Linked DNA regions of Homo sapiens: regions 1, 2, 3, 4, 5 and 7 are each linked to region 6. The links are contacts of gene promoters, found by promoter capture Hi-C in blood cells and fetal thymus (Javierre and others, 2016). All regions are on one chromosome and are shown on one strand. Each heading gives the region's core, a stretch centred on a gene start or on the middle of the fragment in contact. The rest is flanking DNA. Distances are from core to core; before and after follow the strand shown. Region 1 overlaps LOC105373454 (a long non-coding RNA gene). Region 2 has its middle 17 kb from the start of RDH14. Region 3 overlaps LOC105373456 (a long non-coding RNA gene). Region 4 overlaps MATN3 (matrilin 3). Region 5 overlaps LAPTM4A (lysosomal protein transmembrane 4 alpha). Region 6 holds the start of OSR1 (odd-skipped related transcription factor 1). Region 7 overlaps NT5C1B-RDH14 (NT5C1B-RDH14 readthrough).

Evidence for each region. The method cuts DNA at HindIII sites, captures the fragments that hold promoters and counts their contacts. A CHiCAGO score of 5 or more calls a contact.
Region 1: a contact is called between a fragment that was not itself captured here and the fragment with the promoter of OSR1 in region 6, in 9 of 17 cell types (megakaryocytes, M2 macrophages, M1 macrophages and 6 more). The highest score is 12.0, in megakaryocytes.
Region 2: a fragment that was not itself captured here is called in contact with the fragment with the promoter of OSR1 in region 6 in 15 of 17 cell types (total CD4 T cells, total CD8 T cells, naive CD8 T cells and 12 more); the score reaches 17.3 in total CD4 T cells.
Region 3: a fragment that was not itself captured here is called in contact with the fragment with the promoter of OSR1 in region 6 in 1 of 17 cell types (naive CD8 T cells); the score reaches 5.1 in naive CD8 T cells.
Region 4: a fragment that was not itself captured here is called in contact with the fragment with the promoter of OSR1 in region 6 in 1 of 17 cell types (total CD8 T cells); the score reaches 5.0 in total CD8 T cells.
Region 5: a fragment that was not itself captured here is called in contact with the fragment with the promoter of OSR1 in region 6 in 2 of 17 cell types (monocytes and neutrophils); the score reaches 6.0 in monocytes.
Region 7: a fragment that was not itself captured here is called in contact with the fragment with the promoter of OSR1 in region 6 in 13 of 17 cell types (total CD8 T cells, naive CD8 T cells, naive CD4 T cells and 10 more); the score reaches 15.5 in total CD8 T cells.

What each region holds. Positions count from the first base shown.
Region 1 is chr2:18,507,269-18,509,968 of GRCh38, reverse strand. The region is part of intron 6 of LOC105373454 (a long non-coding RNA gene); the gene reads right to left. Among named protein-coding and RNA genes, the nearest start is that of RDH14, 52 kb to the left of the region's middle. The HindIII fragment of the contact is 2,480 bases long and covers 111-2,590 here.
Region 2 is chr2:18,542,508-18,545,207 of GRCh38, reverse strand. No RefSeq gene overlaps it. Among named protein-coding and RNA genes, the nearest start is that of RDH14, 17 kb to the left of the region's middle. The HindIII fragment of the contact is 5,341 bases long and covers 1-2,700 here.
Region 3 is chr2:18,589,419-18,592,118 of GRCh38, reverse strand. The region is part of intron 2 of LOC105373456 (a long non-coding RNA gene); the gene reads right to left. It overlaps NT5C1B-RDH14 (NT5C1B-RDH14 readthrough), which reads left to right and starts at 2,550. Exons shown (of 11, transcript NM_001199104.2): 1 at 2,550-2,680. The coding sequence starts at 2,651. It overlaps NT5C1B (5'-nucleotidase, cytosolic IB), which reads left to right and starts at 2,550. Exons shown (of 9, transcript NM_033253.4): 1 at 2,550-2,680. The coding sequence starts at 2,651. The HindIII fragment of the contact is 777 bases long and covers 906-1,682 here.
Region 4 is chr2:19,995,934-19,998,633 of GRCh38, reverse strand. It overlaps MATN3 (matrilin 3), which reads left to right. Exons shown (of 8, transcript NM_002381.5): 6 at 1,375-1,500. The region is part of intron 1 of WDR35-DT (WDR35 divergent transcript); the gene reads right to left. Among named protein-coding and RNA genes, the nearest start is that of WDR35-DT, 7.1 kb to the right of the region's middle. The HindIII fragment of the contact is 260 bases long and covers 1,300-1,559 here.
Region 5 is chr2:20,044,977-20,047,676 of GRCh38, reverse strand. All of the region lies in intron 1 of LAPTM4A (lysosomal protein transmembrane 4 alpha), which reads left to right. Among named protein-coding and RNA genes, the nearest start is that of LAPTM4A, 5.3 kb to the left of the region's middle. The HindIII fragment of the contact is 1,471 bases long and covers 575-2,045 here.
Region 6 is chr2:19,357,371-19,360,070 of GRCh38, reverse strand. OSR1 (odd-skipped related transcription factor 1) reads left to right here and starts at 1,448. Exons shown (of 3, transcript NM_145260.3): 1 at 1,448-1,730. RefSeq lists an enhancer at 1,576-2,104. The HindIII fragment of the contact is 8,359 bases long and covers 1-2,700 here.
Region 7 is chr2:18,567,050-18,569,749 of GRCh38, reverse strand. All of the region lies in intron 9 of NT5C1B-RDH14 (NT5C1B-RDH14 readthrough), which reads left to right. All of the region lies in intron 8 of NT5C1B (5'-nucleotidase, cytosolic IB), which reads left to right. The region is part of intron 2 of LOC105373456 (a long non-coding RNA gene); the gene reads right to left. Among named protein-coding and RNA genes, the nearest start is that of RDH14, 7.7 kb to the right of the region's middle. The HindIII fragment of the contact is 3,270 bases long and covers 1-2,700 here.

The sequences.
Region 1 (2,700 bases), core at 101-2,600, 850 kb after region 6:
AAATTATATAAAAGATAAATCCATATATAACATACAATATAAATATAGAATAAATGTTCTAATTAAAAAATAAAGATTATTAGACAGATTAAAATATTCATGTGGAAGCTTTTTATAAGACACATATATAAACCATAAAGATACAAATAATTCAAAGTAGAAACATGAAAAATAAATACTGATCACCCACAGGAACTGCTATAGCTATACTAATACCGAACAAAATAGATTATAAGGCAATATGCATAAAATATAAATAGCATCACTTTATAATAATACATAATTTTATTTACTGAGAAAATATAACAACTCTAAATTTATAAATGTTCATTAATATAGCTTCAAATATAGTTTGCTAAAGTTGACAAAATTACCAGAAGAAATAAGTAAATTCAGAATCAGAGGAAGAAATCTTAACACACCTCTCTCAGTAGCTGATAAAAGTTCAGTCTCCTCTCTCTCAAAAAAAATAAAAATAAAAACCCTAAAAAATCAAAAAATAAATATTGGACACAATTTTTTAAACATTATATTATATATATTATATTTTTATTGTATGTTTTCTATGTTTAGATAAACAAATACCATTGTGTTACGATTTATTCAGCACAATTTTTAAAAGAACAGTTCATTATTTAAAAGATCTTGGCAACAAAAGTTGGAAGAAAATATCATTAAAAGAGGGTTTATATTAATAAAAAGCCTGCTACAAATATAATTAATGGTTGAAAGTTTTCCTTCTGAGTTTTGTACTGCGACAAGGAGGGCTATTGCTCCCCTTTTAAAAAATGATTATACTGAATATCATAAACAGTGGGATAAAGCAACAGAAAGACATCATACAAATGTTAAGAATTAGACAGAAACAAAATTGTCATTATTTACTGATGAAACAGCTGCATATGTGGAAATTCAAAAGAATCTGTAGACAAATTATAAGAAAGAAAAGTTTCTGGGATCTCATATTATATATATATTTAGCTAGTCAACAAATATATGATTTTTACAAAATATATATTGCATATATACATTATCATATATACATTATACATTACCATATTTATACATTATATATGTATATATATTTGCAGTAAGTCACTAGAAAATGAAATTTTAAATTATACAATTTATAATAACATCAAGAAATAGAAAATATCTAAACATAAATCTTGCAAAAGTTATGCAAAAGTTTTACAGAAAATATTGTGAAACTTAGATAAGAGTTATTGCAGAAGACTTAAGTAATTGGAAGAATATACTGTGTTTATGATATCTGGAAGACTTCATATTTTAAAAATGTTGATTCTTCCCAAATTGGCTTATAGGTTCAGTGCAATGTCAATCAAAATTCTAAAAGAGGGATGTGTGTGCGTGGAACTTGAAAAGTTGTTTATCATTTTTTTTTCTTCAGAGACAGGATCTTGCTCTGTCTCCCAGGCTGGAGTGCAGTGGCACAGTCATAACTCGCTGTGGCCTCAAACTCCTGGCCTCATGTGATCCTTCCACCTCAGCCTCCCAATGTACTGGGATTACAGAGGTGAACCACGGTGCCCAGTCTGACAAGTAGTTTTTAAATGTATATGGAAAAGCAAAAGGAGAAGAGTGACAAAGACATTCTAGAAAATAACAAATGAAGAGTATTTGCTTTAAAGGAAATAAATACTTTCTGTGAAGCTATAATAATTAAGACTGTGGTATTGGTTCAGGGCAAGGAAGTAGCAAACAGTACAACTCAAACAAAATTATGTACATATGAACCCTTGAACTGTGATAGAAGTTGCATTTTATTTCATTAAATGAAACATATTATTTTCAATAAATGATGCATAAGTATATTGACCAACAATATGGAAAAGTGAAATCAGACTGTTATCTCACTTGGTATGCAAAAATTGTTGCATGTCATTTAAATATCTAAGAGAGATGAAACTATATAAATGAAATAAAATTATATAAATGTTTTCTATAATAATATAAGAGAATATCTTCATGGTCTTGGAATAAAGAAGACAAAAATTTATATGAGTCATAAAAGAAACAACTAGTAATTTAACGTTATTAAAAATAAGAGCTTAGGGCTGGGCGCGGTGGCTCACGCCTGTAATCCCAGCACTTTGGGAGGCTGAGGCGGGTGGATCATGAGGTCAGGAGATCGAGACCATCCTGGCTAACACGGTGAAACCCCGTCTCTACTAAAAATACAAAAAATATTAGCCGGGCATGGTGGTGGGCGCCTGTAGTCCCAGCTACAGCGGGAGGCTGAGGCAGGAGAATGGCGTGAACCCGGGAGGCGGAGCTTGCAGTGGGCCGAGATCGTGCCACTGCACTCCAGCCTAGGTGACAGAGCGAGACTCCATCTCAAAAAAAAAAAAACTTCTATGTATCAAAGATATCAAAGTTAAAAAGATAACACTAAAAGTAAAACTACAAACCACTGAATTGAAAAGTATCTGCAGCACATACAACTGACAAATATCAGCCATCCAGAACATTTAAAGAACTACATACATCCTGAAGAAAAAAAGAAACAAATGAATACAAAAAGATAATGAAAAGATATGAACTGGTCTTTCTAAATTGGCCATAAGCTTATGAAAAGTGGTTTAACTTCAGTGGCAATCAGAGACATAAATATTGAAACCACAATGTGAAATTGAATGTCAAAAAATTTTAAAGTTGCATAATATTAACTTTGGTAAG
Region 2 (2,700 bases), core at 50-2,549, 810 kb after region 6:
GACCAAGCCATGGCATATATAGAAGGCACAAAGAAATTCGGTATTACTACTTGAAGGGCTGGGGGTGGGTTGGGGGAAGAGAGGCAATCAGTATGACATTTCTTTAATCACAATTGTACAATGTTGAAGCCTTAGCTTAGTAGCCTCAGATATTTGAATTTGTCAAAATATCTGTCAATAATGAGAAACCAACAAAAGAACAGGAAACTTTTCTTTGGGTAGCAAAATGTATCCCAATAAAGAAAATCCATTTGGGAAGCCAACTTATACTCAGAATCTTAATTAGTTCTTCTAGAATCAGAGCACAGGAAGTGACTTCTGAGACTGAATGTTTAGTGGCATTAGCAGTAATATCTGCATTAGGCCCATCCTTAAGCAGGAGATTTATGCTCTGGATGTGTCTCTTTAAGTGGGCCTTGTAATTATGTGTTCTGTTTTGCTGACTTTACTGCATCTGAGTGACATTTTTTTAAAAAAATATGTGTTTATCATTTAAATGTTTCTAGTCTAGCTGAGGAAACATTTTGTCTCTGCTGTATGACAGAGAAGTAGAAGGGGCCAAGTGAACCAGCCACATTCAAAGACACAGGTAAGGTAGAGGAAGATATTATTCTTCCTCTTCCAGTTGGAGACACTGACAGTTGAGAAAAATCTATATCAGGATATAGATATTCCTATATGAGAAATATGAGACTTCATTTCCTAATATGAGATTTCTGGTGAATAGATTAATTCATCACAGCTGTTTTCCATTTAGGAAAAATGTAATTAATACGAGGCTTCCTTCAGCAGCCAATGTGATTAGGACTGTAGAATGACTCGTGATGGATAATCCTGCATAAGTGTTTTGGGTAGTGTGAATGGATTAGAAAGACATTCATGACCGAATCCTTGGTTACCTTAGGAATATTTATTCCTGTGTTTATGCTGCAAAACAAGTCAGAGAAGTAGAGATAGGAAGGGACTCAAAGGTTAGTTGTGAGTGGCCAAGCACTAAACTGTGAGTACACTGAAAGCAGGAATCTGTTTGCACCTTTTCTGCATCCTGCTAACATCTGGAATGGGGCTATATCAATCACTCACAAAATATTAGGTTGACAAATTAATTAGTTAATTAATGACCTGAAAGCTCAGGTGTCTACCACATTACTGATGGTCAGGGTAGATGGGGCTGATTTGGCTGTCCTGGTAGATGGTCTCTCACTATACCCTAGGAAATGAGTTCCATCTTTATTGAAGAAAAGAGAGCTCTTCTGGCTTGTGAAGCCAATGCTGGATTCTTCTTTAACACTCGTATTGAACAGTCAAAACAGTAAGCATGAAAATGCCGTTAAGTAAGTGTGGCATTATTTTTGACAATGATAGTCAATGGTAATTGGGAATTAGTACAAGGAAAACTAGAATGTCTACAAAGAAAGCATACAGACAATCATAATCATCATCATCATCATCCTGCCACAAATTCCCCTGGAAATTTCTGTATAGTTCAGTCAAATTATTGACTCCATCTTCTAGTTCTTTCTGCAGATGCCTGTGTATTTTAGTAAGCAGCCTGTCTTCAGTTGACAGATGTGACTTGCTAAAGCCAACACAATTAATTTTGCCATATTTAGTATTAATTTACTCCAGCTGTTAATTAATTTTCAAATAAGTTTACACGTAGGAAAAAAACTAAAGAAGACTTATTTTCTTTTTAAAATAGTGCCACATTCTTGCAAATCCCTAAGACCATGGCTCATCAGTTAATAGAATAAAATAGGACATGTGATTAAACTCATTAGGGAAAATTCTTTCCAGAATAAAAACTACTATTTATTTGAGATAGTTTACATATATTATCTCTAATTCTTGTAACAACATTGTAAACTATTCTTATTCCTAATTTATAGATAAGGAAACAAGGCTTCAGAAAACTCAAGTGACTCATCTGCAGCCACGATTTGGACCAAAATCTTTAGAGTTTAGAACCTTTGGCTTTTTTACTCAACCAGCAGATCCTTCTTTTAGTGAACTAAAATGATGTACTTAGAAAAAGTTAAAATTTCCTCTGAAATCAAAACAATCTTAGATATTTAACTCTCGTATATGGTTATTATTCAAAATTTTTCTCTTTCATATATTCATTTTCTAGAGTGGACGTTATTTTAAACAAGATTATTTCTGCCTGATAGGTCAAGAATGCATTAAAAAAAAATTCAATGACTACTATATTTAGTTTCTCTGTCAACACAAGTTAATTGAAAAGGTTTCTGCATAATATCCCCAAGTGTAAATTATTTATCAGGGTGGTTAAATAACCCAGTGCCACTCTAGAGTGTTGGTTTCCTGCCAGAGGGATATATATCATCTTTCAGGGGTTTGGAGAAATTGCACAAACAATGAACATGTCTGAGTTAAATCACAATATGGTGATCAAAAGAACCATATTACAGTACCATATAGTAAATGCAACTATTTCTTTTGAAATGCAACCGTTTTAACTCTTCAACATCTGCTGAGAATTCAGTGATTAGACATAACTCTGAAAACCCACTAAAGACTCCAGATATTTAGTATAGCTTTCCCACTATACAACCAATAACACACTTGACATAGCAATATTATTTCATAAAAACTGTCTGAATAAAATTAGAGTTCACAGAGAAAATATTGTATTTTCCTTTTCAAAAACATTATTTAAGGGAATGTCAGCTTATAGAC
Region 3 (2,700 bases), core at 45-2,544, 770 kb after region 6:
TCTCTATCAGAAATACAAAAATTAGCCAGGCATGGTGGTACATGCCTGAAATCCCAGCTACTTGGGAGGCTGAGGCAGGAGAATCGCTTAAACCTGGGAAGTGGAGGTTGCAGTGAGCTGAGATCTTGCCATTGCACTCCAGCCTGAGTGACAGAGCAAGACTCTGTCTCAAAAAAAAAAAAAAATTCCACCACTACTGTTACCATAATATTCTGTATCCTGCTTATCACTGTTAAGTAAACGCATTTCTTAAAAGATTCATGTATTTATTCAACAAATATTTATGGAAGTACCTCCTAGTAACTATTCTAGGCAAGAAGAAAGCAGCAGTAGAAAAGATGTATAGGTCGCTTCTCACAAGCAGTTTTCGCTCCAGCGGGACCAGAAAAGACAATAAGCAAATAAACTCTTGTGAAACAAAGTCAGGTTGAAATAAATGTTATGATTGAAAATAAAGGGACATAAGGGTTAAAAGATGAAGGAAATGAGGTATCATTTTTAGTGACAGTCAGAGAAGTCCTCTCTGAGGAGACTGCTTGAGAGCAGAGTTAAAAAAATAAGGAATTAAGGCACGTGTATATATGGGCCGCTGCAGCAGATGGAGCAGCAAATTTAAAAGTCTTGCGACAAGAACATGCTTAACCCATTACATGGCTTGGATATTTGTCCCTTCCAAATCTTATGTTAAAAGATGACTCCCAATGTTGGAGGTGAGGCCTAGTGTGAGGTGTTTGGGTCATGAAGGTCAATCCCTAATGGATGGCTTTGTGCCTTCCCATGGTAATGAGTTACGAGGATATCTGACTGTTCAAAAGAATCTGGGACCTCCTCCCTTCTCTCTTGCTCCTGCTCTTGTCGTGTTACACATTTGCTCCTTCTTTGCCTTCTGTCATGATTGGGAAGCTTCCTGAGGCCTCGCCAGAAGCACATGCCAGCACTATGCTTCCTGTATAGTCTGCAGAACTGTGAGTCACATAAACCTCTGACTCAGGTCAGTTCATGCTTTTGCCTAGGCTTCCAGACTGTGGAGGAAGGGACTCCAGCCCACAGCCCTAGATTTGGGATGTCAGGCTTCCCTAAGTGAAGTCCTACCCATGAAACCTATAACAGAAGCCTCTGCTCTCTCCCTCGAAGGAGTGCTAAGAAGCCATAATGAGTTTATAATCCTGAATAGTAGAAATAAAACACCTAATTACAATGAGATGAAATTCACATTAGCTGCTCTGGCCCCAAACACAGCATACTAAGAAAATAAAGATGCTCTTGGTACTTAGGGGTGTGATTTTAATAGAAAAGGTAAGGTTCTCTGAAGTTACTCTGAAACGTATAGCACTTACAACTTTGATTGTCTACATAACTTATACAAATATTACACAATAACATCATAACCATGCAAAAACAAATGACCCCTGTACAAATTTTGGGTAGAATGCTGGGGGTTGGGTGTACAGTGGGGAGTAGGGGAGAGATGAAATAACTTAAACCCAGGCACTCTTACCTACAGCCTGAATGTTTTACTAACTAAAAGACTCCTTGGATAACTTAAATTAAAACCATCAACAACTTCCGATATTCAACCTTAGCTATCAACTTGTCCCATGAAAACAGGCTGGAAACCTGCCTCAGTCCTTGATGATTTCACCAGCTCAGGTTGGCATGGCACATGTCTCCTATCTAAAGCTTGGGTGAAGATAAAAGGAGAAAACTAAAATGGAGAACATGTTTAGATTCTGTAAACCAGAGTTAGGGGCTACTTTTTACAAATATCAATTCTATTTGTAACTGTATGTTTCCTGTTACTTGCCAAAATGAATCACAAACTCATTTGTGGACCCAATCATTTATCCATGTTCACTCTCCCAGACTTTGGGGGGCTTTCCTCAGATCTGGAAACTATTTTTGACAGCTGAGATTTTGTTCTAGACATGGAGTTTAGACTTGAGTTTGAGTTTAGCTTTAGTGTTTAAAGGGTTAAGGATGGGGCAGCCCAGGGTTAAGGGTTAAGGATGGGGCAGCAAAGGTAACATTCTACACTGAGTCTAGCCATGGGGAAGGGGCTTTGACAGTGTCTTCCTCAACAGGTTTTGCCATTGAAAGAAACATGAGACATTAAAGCTAAACTCAAACTCAAGTCTAAACTCCATGTCTGGAACAAAATCCCAGCTGTCAAAAATAGTCTCTAGATCTGAGAAAAGCCCTCCAAAGTCTGTCTGGCAGAATGAACATGGATAAATGATTGGATCCACAAATGACTTTGCCATTCATTTTGGCAGTACCAGGAAACAGACAGTCACAAATGGGATTAATATAATGAATGGCAGAGAAATGCTTAAAAAGATTTAAAAAGGAAGTGGTAATATTGATATTGCTACATATTGAACATTTGAACAATGTTTAGACATCAATTTCTGAAAACAAAGACAATGGCTATGAGCAGATACACTCAAAATGAAGAAACATTTATTTTTTGTTTTTTAAGAAAAGGTTAATCACATATTCATAGAGTCAGTTTGTTACTATGGAATCACATATGATGTCATAAATTTGACATTCTAAATGCAAAGCTAGACTGAGCAAGGGAAGTGACAGGAAATGGAGCTGGGGAGACAAAAATGTGGATAACAACAAAAGAATTTCAACAGGTAAAAAAATGAGTCAAACATCTCTCAAACAGAAAAAGGTGAGTGAACCGAGTGTCTT
Region 4 (2,700 bases), core at 180-2,679, 640 kb before region 6:
AGGCACATGCCACCACACCTGGCTAATTTTTGTATTTTTTTGTAGAGATGGGGTTTTGACATTTTGTCCAAGCTTGTCTTGAACTCCTAAGCTCAAGCAATACACCTGCCTTGGCTTCCCAAAGTGCTGGGATTACAGGTGTGAGCCACTGTGCCTGGCCTATTTATATATTTTAAAGTAATAGTGAATACTGCTATAAAGCTGGGGAACATACCATGGATCAGATCCCTTCTAATGGTCTGCTTTTCCGTTGCTAGTGGTAGGAAGGCTTGTAAATTAAATGTGGAGCCCCAAATAAGGGCCAGGGGCTGGAAGCATGTCCATTTGCCACCTGTAGAGTGGGTACTAACCTGGAATGAGGGGGAAAAAAATGAAACACCCTGCTATAAGGCATTTTGCTGAAAAAAAAATCTAAATTGTAGCACTGAAAGGGAATAGCCATATTAAGGTTGGAAAGGCACTTTATGTATAGATTATATAGCGTCTCACATTTCACAAGAAGCTATTCTATAGGCATTAGTGAGCCACAAAAGGTTCTGCCCATGAAATGACATTTAAGAGGAAAATTAGAGGGAAATAAACTATTTTGGTTCCTGCAATGGCAGAGGAGGAACCTATGTCTTCCAGGAAGGCTTTCTGGATTTCAAAGGAGAATTACTGTTTTATTTGTCCTAGGCCAGTCTGAACATGGGATGAGTATGGCACTTTGCTCTCCTCTCCACTCAAATTTGGGCAAACTGCATTTGTCCCTGAAATGTTATTTGTGATAGATAGTAAGTACTTCACTCTCTAATCATACACATCATCATTACTAACCCTGTATCATTTCCCCATCTGTGCTTGTGTGTGTGTGTGTGTGTGTGCATGTGTCTCCTGGTCAGTCTTTTCTGTTACACTTTGTAAGCTATGAAGGCAGGCACTTGGTCAATATAGTGCTTTTTGTGCAGCATCAAACTTAGCTCCATGTATGATTAGGTCCCTAAAACATTACTTTTGGTGATGATGATGATGATCCATGAGTAGCTGGGGATGCTAGAAGCATTGATAGTCATCGGGAAAGGCTGGAGGTAAGTTCTGGAATATAGTCAAGACTCAGTGCTGCCCAGTGCTGTGGGTAGAAAAAAAGGAAAGGTACCCTTAGATATCTGTGAGAGATATAAAGGAAAGGAGTGTGTGTGATGTGAGGCCAAAGGGATGAGAGGTATGGGAAGAGAAAACAGGCTTGCTCCTGCAGCATGGGGCCTGTTGCTGACTACTGACTACTACATTCTCAGCACTTGTGGGGACCAAATGGAAGCTTCTCCTCTCAAACATTTGTGTTTACTTTTCTATTTAATGTGTGAATATTTTCTTTCCTGCACCACGTGCGGTCAGTCCGTGACAAGTGTGCCCTAGGCTCTCATGGTTGCCAGCACATTTGTGTGAGTGATGGGGCCGCATCCTACCACTGTGATTGCTATCCTGGCTACACCTTAAATGAGGACAAGAAAACATGTTCAGGTGAGGATCAGCCCTTTAAGGCTATTTCCTTTGGTAGGAAAATTTTTCAGGAGCAAGCTTTTTTCTTTCTGTCTAAGACACAGTTGTGATTCTTTCTCCCTGTCAGAATTCTCCAGTGGCTCCCACTGGTCTACAGAATAAAACAATGATACCCCTATACCAGGCAGCCTACCCTCCATGATCTGTTTCTGTCTTCTCTGTTTTTCACATTTTTCTTAATAACTAAACTTTCTGCCTAAGTCTGAATTTTTTTTATTGTGGTAAAATACACATACAATTTACCATTTCAATTATTTTCAAGTGTATAGTTCAGTGGCATTAAGTACATTTACATTGTTGGGCAACCACCACCAGTATCCATCTCCAGAAATTTTTTATCATCCCAAAATAAAAGTCTGTGCCGATGAAACAATAACTGCCCATCACCCGCTCCCCTCAGCCCATGGTAACTACTTCTCTCATCCTGGCTTTTAAAACTTTTCTACTACATTTGCCCCCAGATTCACTGCTTCTTCCTGCATCCTGGTCCAGCCACAGTGGGCTCTTTGATGGTCCAGGAGCATGCCCTGCACTCACTCATTCCCACCCTCCCCTCAATGCTTTTGCTTGTCAGAATTTGCTTGCCAACATTTGGTTTTGTTGAATTAAATTTTTGCCAATCCAGTGGATGTTTTTTTCATTTCCTGGTTACTAATGAGGTGAGGCATCTTTTCCTGGAGAGTACTGCCATTTTAACAGTCTTTCATTGCATTAACATGGTATGTCTTTAATTTAATTTAATTTTATTTTATTTTAGGTCTTCTTTAATTTCTTTCAAAATTGTTTTGTAGTTTTCAGTGTACAAGTCTTGTACTTTTAAAAATATTTATTCCTAACTATTTTATTCCTTCTGGTGCTATTATAAGCACCATTTCTCCATTTCTCAACTTTCAATTTTGCTACAACCCAGGTTTGAGAAATGGAGTTTGAGATCCATTTCTCAACTTTCAATTTTTCTACAATCCAGGTTTACAATTTTCTATGAAGTGTTGTAATTAAGACTATCCCACTGAACCCATGCCCTGCTAGAGCTTAGAGACTATCAGGCACGACAGACACTGAACAAGTATTATATATACCCATCTTATGGGTACAGGGATAATGGACATGTAGTTGATCTTCAATAGATACTTCCTGGTTTATTGACTGATTAACTAAGAT
Region 5 (2,700 bases), core at 61-2,560, 690 kb before region 6:
CGCCCAGGCCGGACTGCGGACCGCAGTGGCGCAATCTCGGCTCACTGCAAGCTCCGCTTCCCGGGTTCACGCCATTCTCCTGCCTCAGCCTCCCGAGTAGCTGGGACTACAGGCGCCCGCCACCGCGCCCGGCTAATTTTTTGTATTTTTAGTAGAGACGGGGTTTCACCTTGTTAGCCAGGATGGTCTCGATCTCCTGACCTCATGATCCACCCGCCTCGGCCTCCCAAAGTGCTGGGATTACAGGCGTGAGCCACCGCGCCCGGCCTTTTTTTTTTTTTTTCTTTTTTGAGACAGAGTCTTGCTCTGTCACCAGGCTGGAGTGCAGTGGTGCGATCTCGGCTCACTGCAACCTCCGCCTCCCAGGTTCAAGCGATTCCTCTGCCCCAGCCTCCCAAATAGCTGGGACTACAGGCACCCGCCACCATGTCGGGCTAATTTTTTGTATTTTAGTAGAGACGGGGTTTCACCGTGTTGGCCGGGATTGTCTCGATCTCCTGACCTCATGATCTGCCTGCCTTGGCCTCCCAAAGTGCTGGGATTACAGGCGTGAGCTACCATGCCCAGCCAAGCTTTCTTTACTTCCTAGCCAGGGGGATCTGTTTTTCTCACGGTGCACCTGCAAAAGTTTCTGGATCCTTCTTGTATGTACTTATTAAATAGTACTCAGTACACATTGGTAGGATTGTCCTTTTCTCTTATTTTTCTCTCTACAGCAAGATGTTCTCCTGGAGGGAAGAGGGTGATGTCTTTATAAGGGCAGTGGCTCACGCCTGTAATCCCAGCATTTTGGGAGGCCAAGGCAGGTGGATTGCCCAGGAGTTCGAGACCAGCCTGAGCAACATGACGAAACCCCCTCTCTACCAAAAAAAAATATATATTATATTATATATATATTTATATATTATATTATATATATATTTATATAATATATATTTATATATAGATATATAATATATAAATATATATAAAACATATAAAAATATATATACACACACACATACATACATATATATATTAGCGGGGCATGGTGTGGTGGTGCATGCCTGTAGTCCCAGCTACAGGGGAGGCTGAAGTGGGAGGATCACTTGAGCCGGGGAGGCAGAGGTTGCAGTGAGCCTAGATCGCAGTAACTACTCTCCATCCTGGGTGACAGAATGAGACCCTGTCTCAAAATAAAATGTGTGTGATGGCTAACTTATTAATTAAAACATTTGAGGTGTTCATTACACATTTGTTGAATGAATGTCTCCTCCAAAAAATATTGTGAATACTCAGTTGTATCTGCATGTAACAGTAAACAACAACAAAAAACTTTTTTTTTTTAAATTATACTGTAAGTTCTAGGGTACATGTCCACAGCGTGCAGGTTTGTTGCATAGGTATACATGTGCCATGTTGGTTTGCTGCACCCATCAACTCATCATTTACATTAGTTATTTCTCCTAATGCTATCCCTCCCCCAGCCCGCCACCCGCTGACAGGCCCTGGTGTAGGTGTGTGATGTTCCCCACCCTGTGTCCAAGTGTTCTCATTGTTCAGTTCCCACCTATGAGTGAGAACATGCGGTGTTTGGTTTTCTGTCCTTGTAATAGTTTGCTGAGAATGATGGTTTCCAGCTTCATCCATGTCCCTGCAAAGGACATGAACTAATCCTTTTTTATGGCTAAAAAACGTTTTAAAGATAGTCAATTTTGATCTTTATCAGATAACAGGCTTTGCTTAGTTCTGTAGATTGACCCTCCTGTGGGTGCTTTCTCTGCATGGGAAGCCCTTATCTGGATGCCTCCTTAAACCAGACACACTGTTTTAATTATTATCTCAGTAGATACTGGCTCTGGGCAAATTACTGTGGGAAAACTGAAAAATGATTTTTTTTTTAAAGTCTCCAGAGAATCTTCTGGAATAGGTGTGGCAGTGAAAGAAGAAAACAAAGAATTCCTCTCTTCAGGCCCTGTGCTTCCATGGATCTGATACAGTTATTTTGTAACAAGTCAAATCTAACAGATTTCTTATTGTACACACTTACATAAGATGTAGAAGCTTTCAAAAACAATGCACACCACCTGATTTGACTGATTAAATTTACAGTACTGTTAACACATTGAGTGGTGAATCCGCAGCCCATGCTGCTAAAATATTGCTGCATTCTATACCTCTCCATATTGCCAAGTTTAGAAGTTAATAATTTAATCTTTTTTTTTTTTTTTTAAAGAGATGGGGTCTTGCTATGTTGCCTGTGCTGGTGTGCAATGGCATGATTATAGCACACTGCAGCCTTGAACTGGGCTCAAACAATCCTCCCACCTCAGGCACCTGACCAGCTGGGACTACAGGCACACACCACTGTCCCCAGCTTAATCATTCTTTTTAAATTACATTTTTATTAACTTTCTTTCCTGAATACAGTGAAAGGAAAAAGTGAATCAGGAATAAATATTTGTAATAGTTAGTACATAGTTGGATATTTTCAGAGAAATTTTGTATTGTAAGATTACAGTTAATTTTATGTATTTTTTGAAAAGCTAAACATGTAATTTAGAAATATCAACTTTAATCAGAGATAAGTTGCCAGGGCTTACATGTGAGCACAAGGTAGGCGTTCGTTGGTGAATATCTTTAAGATCAAAGGATGCCAGGAGCGGTGGCTCGTGCCTGTCATCCTAGCACTTTAGGAGGCCAATGCAGTAGGATCACTTG
Region 6 (2,700 bases), core at 199-2,698:
CAAAGATTGCACCCCCTCTTACTCCTCCTCAAACAAGACGAAGTTACCCAGGGGTTAGAGGCTAGATTCTGTTCTAAAGGCCTGGGGATATAAGGAAATCCTCTTTCAACTATGCCTTTGAGGGAGGGGAGTCTTCATTACCATCTCCCTAGGTCAGGTATTACAACCTTCTTCACCTCCCAAGAAAATCAGATTAGCTTTGCAAACCAAAGCTGGAGATAGCAGAAGCTCCTCGGGAGAGAAGCAGTACAGTACTTAGGGACCCACGGAATCTAGGATCCAGCTCCAAGAGTCACTCAGCAGCAACTCTGGGGCAAAGGCAGAGAGTGCAGTTGTGTGATCTGGACCCACACAAGTCCCAGGAAACCAGTGACTCCTCCTTGCCAAACCCAAGGCCTGGAAGGGTATTCCAGAAAGGCATTAGGGAGGGATTGGGCTGGGGTCAGCCGGAGGTCAGCTTTCAGAGATGGGTAGTCAAGGGGGTGATGGTACCCTCCATAATGCCTAGGCAATGAAGATAGAATTTTTAATGTCCAGAACTCTGATTCCTTTCCGATTAAAAACTCCACCTGAACCAGCTCCTTGACTCAGAGGCCCTGGAACTGACAACTTTGCAGCTCGTCTAGCTTGCCAGTGCGGCTCTCTAAACTCTGATCCATCCTAAAACAAATATGTAAGTAGAGAGTGCCACTGTGCATTGGGGTGAAATCTCAGAGAGTTCTGGGCCCCAGGAAAATAACTTTCCTGACCTCCTTTCCCTACTCTTTGTTCTTTCTACTGGACTCCAGAACTTAGGGTCTGGGGTCAACCATAAGCACTCAGATGTTACAGCTCGCTTGCTTCGGTGACCCTGGCCCTCCCGCACCAGGAATTAACCAGCGCTGCCTGGGTTAACACCCTGGCCCCGAGCACGCTTGGATAGCCAGGAGCTGCTCCACACTCGGGGTCTGCCGCCTCTGGAAAGAGATTCTGGGAGGAGATGCGACTCTGTCAGGCGCCAAAGTGCGTTGAAACCCAAGCCGCGGTGTGGGGATCCCGGTGCACAGAGCTACTGCCCCTCCCTCCCTCCTCCCAAAGAGCACGGGCTGTGTCCTAGGAGCCCAAGTATAGGACCTCGAAACGTGCGGTGCCAGCCCGCTCTCATCTGCTAGGGACCGTTTCCTCCAGTGCGCCAGGCGTGCCGCTCTGGACCTAAAAAGGCAGCAGGGGTCGCGCGGGACTGAAGAGGAGGGGACGCAGGTTGGGAGAGGCCGGGTCCAAGCGAGAGCAGCTGCCAAAGTCTGCTGCCCGGGTCAGCAAAAACTTTGTCTTTCATTGCGCAGGCGCAGGGCAGGGTTGGGGGGCAGGGGAGGGAGGGGAGGAATCCTGAGGCAAGGGGCGGGGGTGGGGGTGGTGGAGGAGGGAGGGTGGTGGATTAAAATAAGTAGGCGGCTCGGTGCTAAGGGATGAGTGAGTCGGAGCTCGGCCTCTCCCCGGCACGTTCTCAGCTGCTCCTGGTTCAGACCCAGCGAGGGAGCCGCGAGCGAGGCTCACCGTCCCCGGCGTGCAGGATCCGGGGCTGCTGAGCGCTCGCTCCCGCGTGTCCGGCGCTTGGAGTCCCCGCGGCAGGAGAGGAGTCGGGACACTAGAGCTCCAGGGGCGCCTGTGGGCTCCAGGGCCTCCGGCTTCCCCAGTCCCCTTCAGCTAAAGCCCCAGAGACGTGCTCAGCCCCAGGACCTCTGCGGAACAAGGTAATTGCAGTCCTGGGCGCCTGGGCTCAGCAAAGCGAATGCGGGCAGGACTCCCAGGTTCCTTGTCACTGCTCGGCGGGTGCCTCCTCTCTCTCAATGCCCCTGAAGGAAGCTCTTGCCAAACGAATGCTGTAGGACTTTTGTGAAAGTGAGAGCAGGGTGGTTGGGGGTGCTGCCTCAGGACTTCCTGCGCGGGGTCCTCGGCCTCTGACCGCTGGGGATTAAGGGGGGCGGGCCTCCGCTACTGCGGCCAGCCCGCCCGGCTCTGCGGAATCACGGGCGAGGTGCCCACGGACTTTGAAAGTCAATCTGTGGGCCCCCTTTAAGAAACCAGAGCAACTTCAGCGGGCACAAACTTTCCTGAGACGCGCTCCTAGCTCTGGCTGACGCCCAGGTTGACGAAGAAGGAAGGGAGAGGGAGTGAATGGCCACAGCCGCAGCCGACCGCGCCAGGGACAGGTGCATGCCCCAGCTCGGTAGCGCTTTCGTTCAAGTTTGTCTTTTGAGGAGTTGCGCTCTAGTATGAGGCCGCCTAGACCCGAGAGCGCAGGGCTGCGAGTCTGAACCCCGCCTTGCACTCGCGCTCTAACTTAGGGATATTCTCCATAGGATGATTGCTCTGTGTCGTCAAGGCCTGGAGCGGAACCCTTGATTGTCCTGGTGCAGGGAGGCAATGCAGTGGGCGCAAGCACTGCTTTCCAATTCGAGACCCACACACAGCACTAGTGGAAACTCTGTGGAGCCCTAGGGTCTCCGGGCTGGGGACAGGAAAAGTTCTGTTACTCCCCTGACTGTCCGCTAATCCAGCCGTCAGGAGAGAAAGAAGGGGGAAAGGGGTGAAGGGCTGCCTGCTGAACTAATTTCTCCTCGGAAATGTCTCGGAGAAGAATGAAAAACCACGTTTAGTCCTTTTTCAGCAGCTCAGGCAGTAGCGGGTTGGGTTCTCAATGTGTAAAGTAGCCGCAAGGGT
Region 7 (2,700 bases), core at 108-2,607, 790 kb after region 6:
GAGAATTTATCTATTTATCCTTTCAATTTTATCAGTTTTGTATCATGTATTTTGAATCTCTGTTTTTAGGTGCCTACATATTTAGGATTATTATATTGTCTTAATCTTAATTAATATCTTTTCATTATGTAATATTCATCTGATACTCATATAATCACTCCAGCTTTTTTGGGGGGGCTAATGTTTGTATGATATGATTTTTCTATACTTTTATCTATGTCTTTATATTTAAATTGTGTTTATATTTAACTTATTTTTCTTATAGATATTACAGTTGGTGCTGCTATTTTATACAATCTGGCAATCCCTGTGTTTTAATTGCTGTTTTTAGGACATTTAAATTTAATGTGATCATTGCTTTGGTTGGATTAAAATCTACTATCTTCCTATGTTTTTTCTGTGTTCCAACTGTTCTTAGTCCCCTTTTTCTTTTCTTTTTTCCCCTATTTACTTACAGACTTATTGTGTGTTTTTACGTTCCATTTTATCTCCACTATTGGCTTATGACTCATTTAAAATTTTTTATTAGTTACGCTAGTGTTTACAATATACAACTTTAAGTAATCACAGTCTATTGTCAATGTTATACTCTACAACATCATATGTACTGTAAGAACCTTGCAACAACGAACTGCCAAACTCTGCCTCTCATGTTTTGTGCTACAGTTGTCATATATTATTTTATCTATTCTATAAACTCTCTATACTTTGCTACTGTGAACCTCAAAAATCTGAAACAGGTCTCAGTTAATTTAGAAAGTTTATTTTGACAAGGTTGAGGATACGCATGCATGGCACAGCCTCAGGAGGATCTGACGACATGTGCCCAAGGTGGTCAGAGCACAGTTTGGTTTTATTCATTTAAGGGAGATATGAGATATTAATCAACATATGTAACATGAACATTGGTTCGGTCTGGAAAGGCAGGACAGCTTGAAGCAAAGGTAGGAAGACTCCAAGCGGGTTTGAGTTTCTGATTAGCCTCTCCAAAGGAGGCAATCAGATATGTAGTTATCTCAGTGAGCATAGGGGTGACTTTGAATAGAATGGGAGGCAGGTTGTCTCTAAGCTGTTACAGGCTTGACTTTTCCCTTTAGCTTAGTGACCTGGGGACTGCAACATTTATTTTTCTTTTCCACTACTATTTCTGTTTTTGGCAATTAAATACCGTCTAGTAAATAAGGATGAGGCAAAAATATGTATTTCATATTCAAATTCCTTTTAATCATTTTCAGAGATCTTCCTTTCTTTGTGTAGATCAGGTTTTTCTCTGTTATCATATTCCTTCTGCCAGGAGATCTTTTGTTTTATTTTGTTTTGTTTAACATTTCATGTCGTACAAATCTACTGGTACTGAATCTCTGTTTTTCTTTGCCTAAAAAGTTTTAATCTTATTTAGTTTTTAAAACAATATTTTATTTTTACTGAATGTAGTATTCTGGGTTTACTGTGTGTTTCTCCCAGCACTTTAAAGATGCTCTTCCATTGTCTTCTCATTTGTATAGATTTTGATGACAAATGTTATGAATTTTGTATCTTTGGTCCTTAGTATGTAATGTGTCTGTTTTTGTCTGGCTGCCTTCATAATTGTCTATATTTCCTTTGGTTTGAATATGAGAGGGGAGTGTGTGTGTGTGTGTGTGTGTGTGTGTGTGTGTGTGTCCCACAGCATTTCAATGCTCTGCTCTTTTTTCCCCACTCTTTTTTTCTCTTTCTCTTTTCAGTTTGGGCAATTTCTATTGACCTGTCTTCAAGTTCACTCATTATTTCTTCAGCTGTGTTGAGTCTACTGACACATCCATTAGGCACTCTTTATATAGTTCCATTCAACTCTTTTCATTTCAATCTCTTTGCCAAAATTGCTAGTCTACTCATGTATGGTATCCACCTTTAAAGTAGACATTTAAAGATATTAATCACAGTTATTTTCAATTCCCTCTGTTATATTTGTGACACTTGGGTCATTACTAAGTCTAGTTCTTTTAATTTCTCCTAAAAGTAGATTGTTCATTTTGTTTTGTTCTGTTTTACTGTGGGACTAGCAATTATTGTGATAGATTGAATCAATCAAATCAGGTATTAAAGTTGTTTTAGGTTTTGTGGTTGCTATGGTTATCTTCATGGCACCACAGGATCCAAGTTTGTCTGGTATCAACTTTGTTCTTAGGGTGCAAACTGGCTTACCAGAGGGTTTTTCTCAAGATTTCTAGTCGACTTTCAGCAGCAGGCCTTCCCTGTGTGTCTGCTGCAGAGAAGGTCTCCTCATTCTTACCCCTTCCCAGCTATTTCTTCTATCTTCCTAGGGCTTAGGGATGAACATCCTGGATCTTGCCATGCCCCAGTGATAGCCAATATCTAATGGTACCAATCCTTGATAGTCTCTTATTCTCCCAAAGTTAGAATGTTTTCTTCTGTAACAGTGGATCTTTACTCATGCCCTGGAGGATAACAGTGTTTGAAGCTCTTCTAGCAGTCTAGGCTCTTTGTTCCTGAGGGTATAAGCAACTAGGGGGAGTTTTAGTCTTTGCCCCCAGTGGCAGCTGCTCCCCTCCTCCACACCTGTACCATCAAGGATGGCTTTATTCTATCACCCCACTGCCTGCAGTCTTTGTCATCAGCATCTAGTGAAGTCCATGGAGAAAAGCCTAAAAGAGAGTGTGTACTTCTTGTGCCTGTGGATCCTAGGGCTTCTATGCTCTC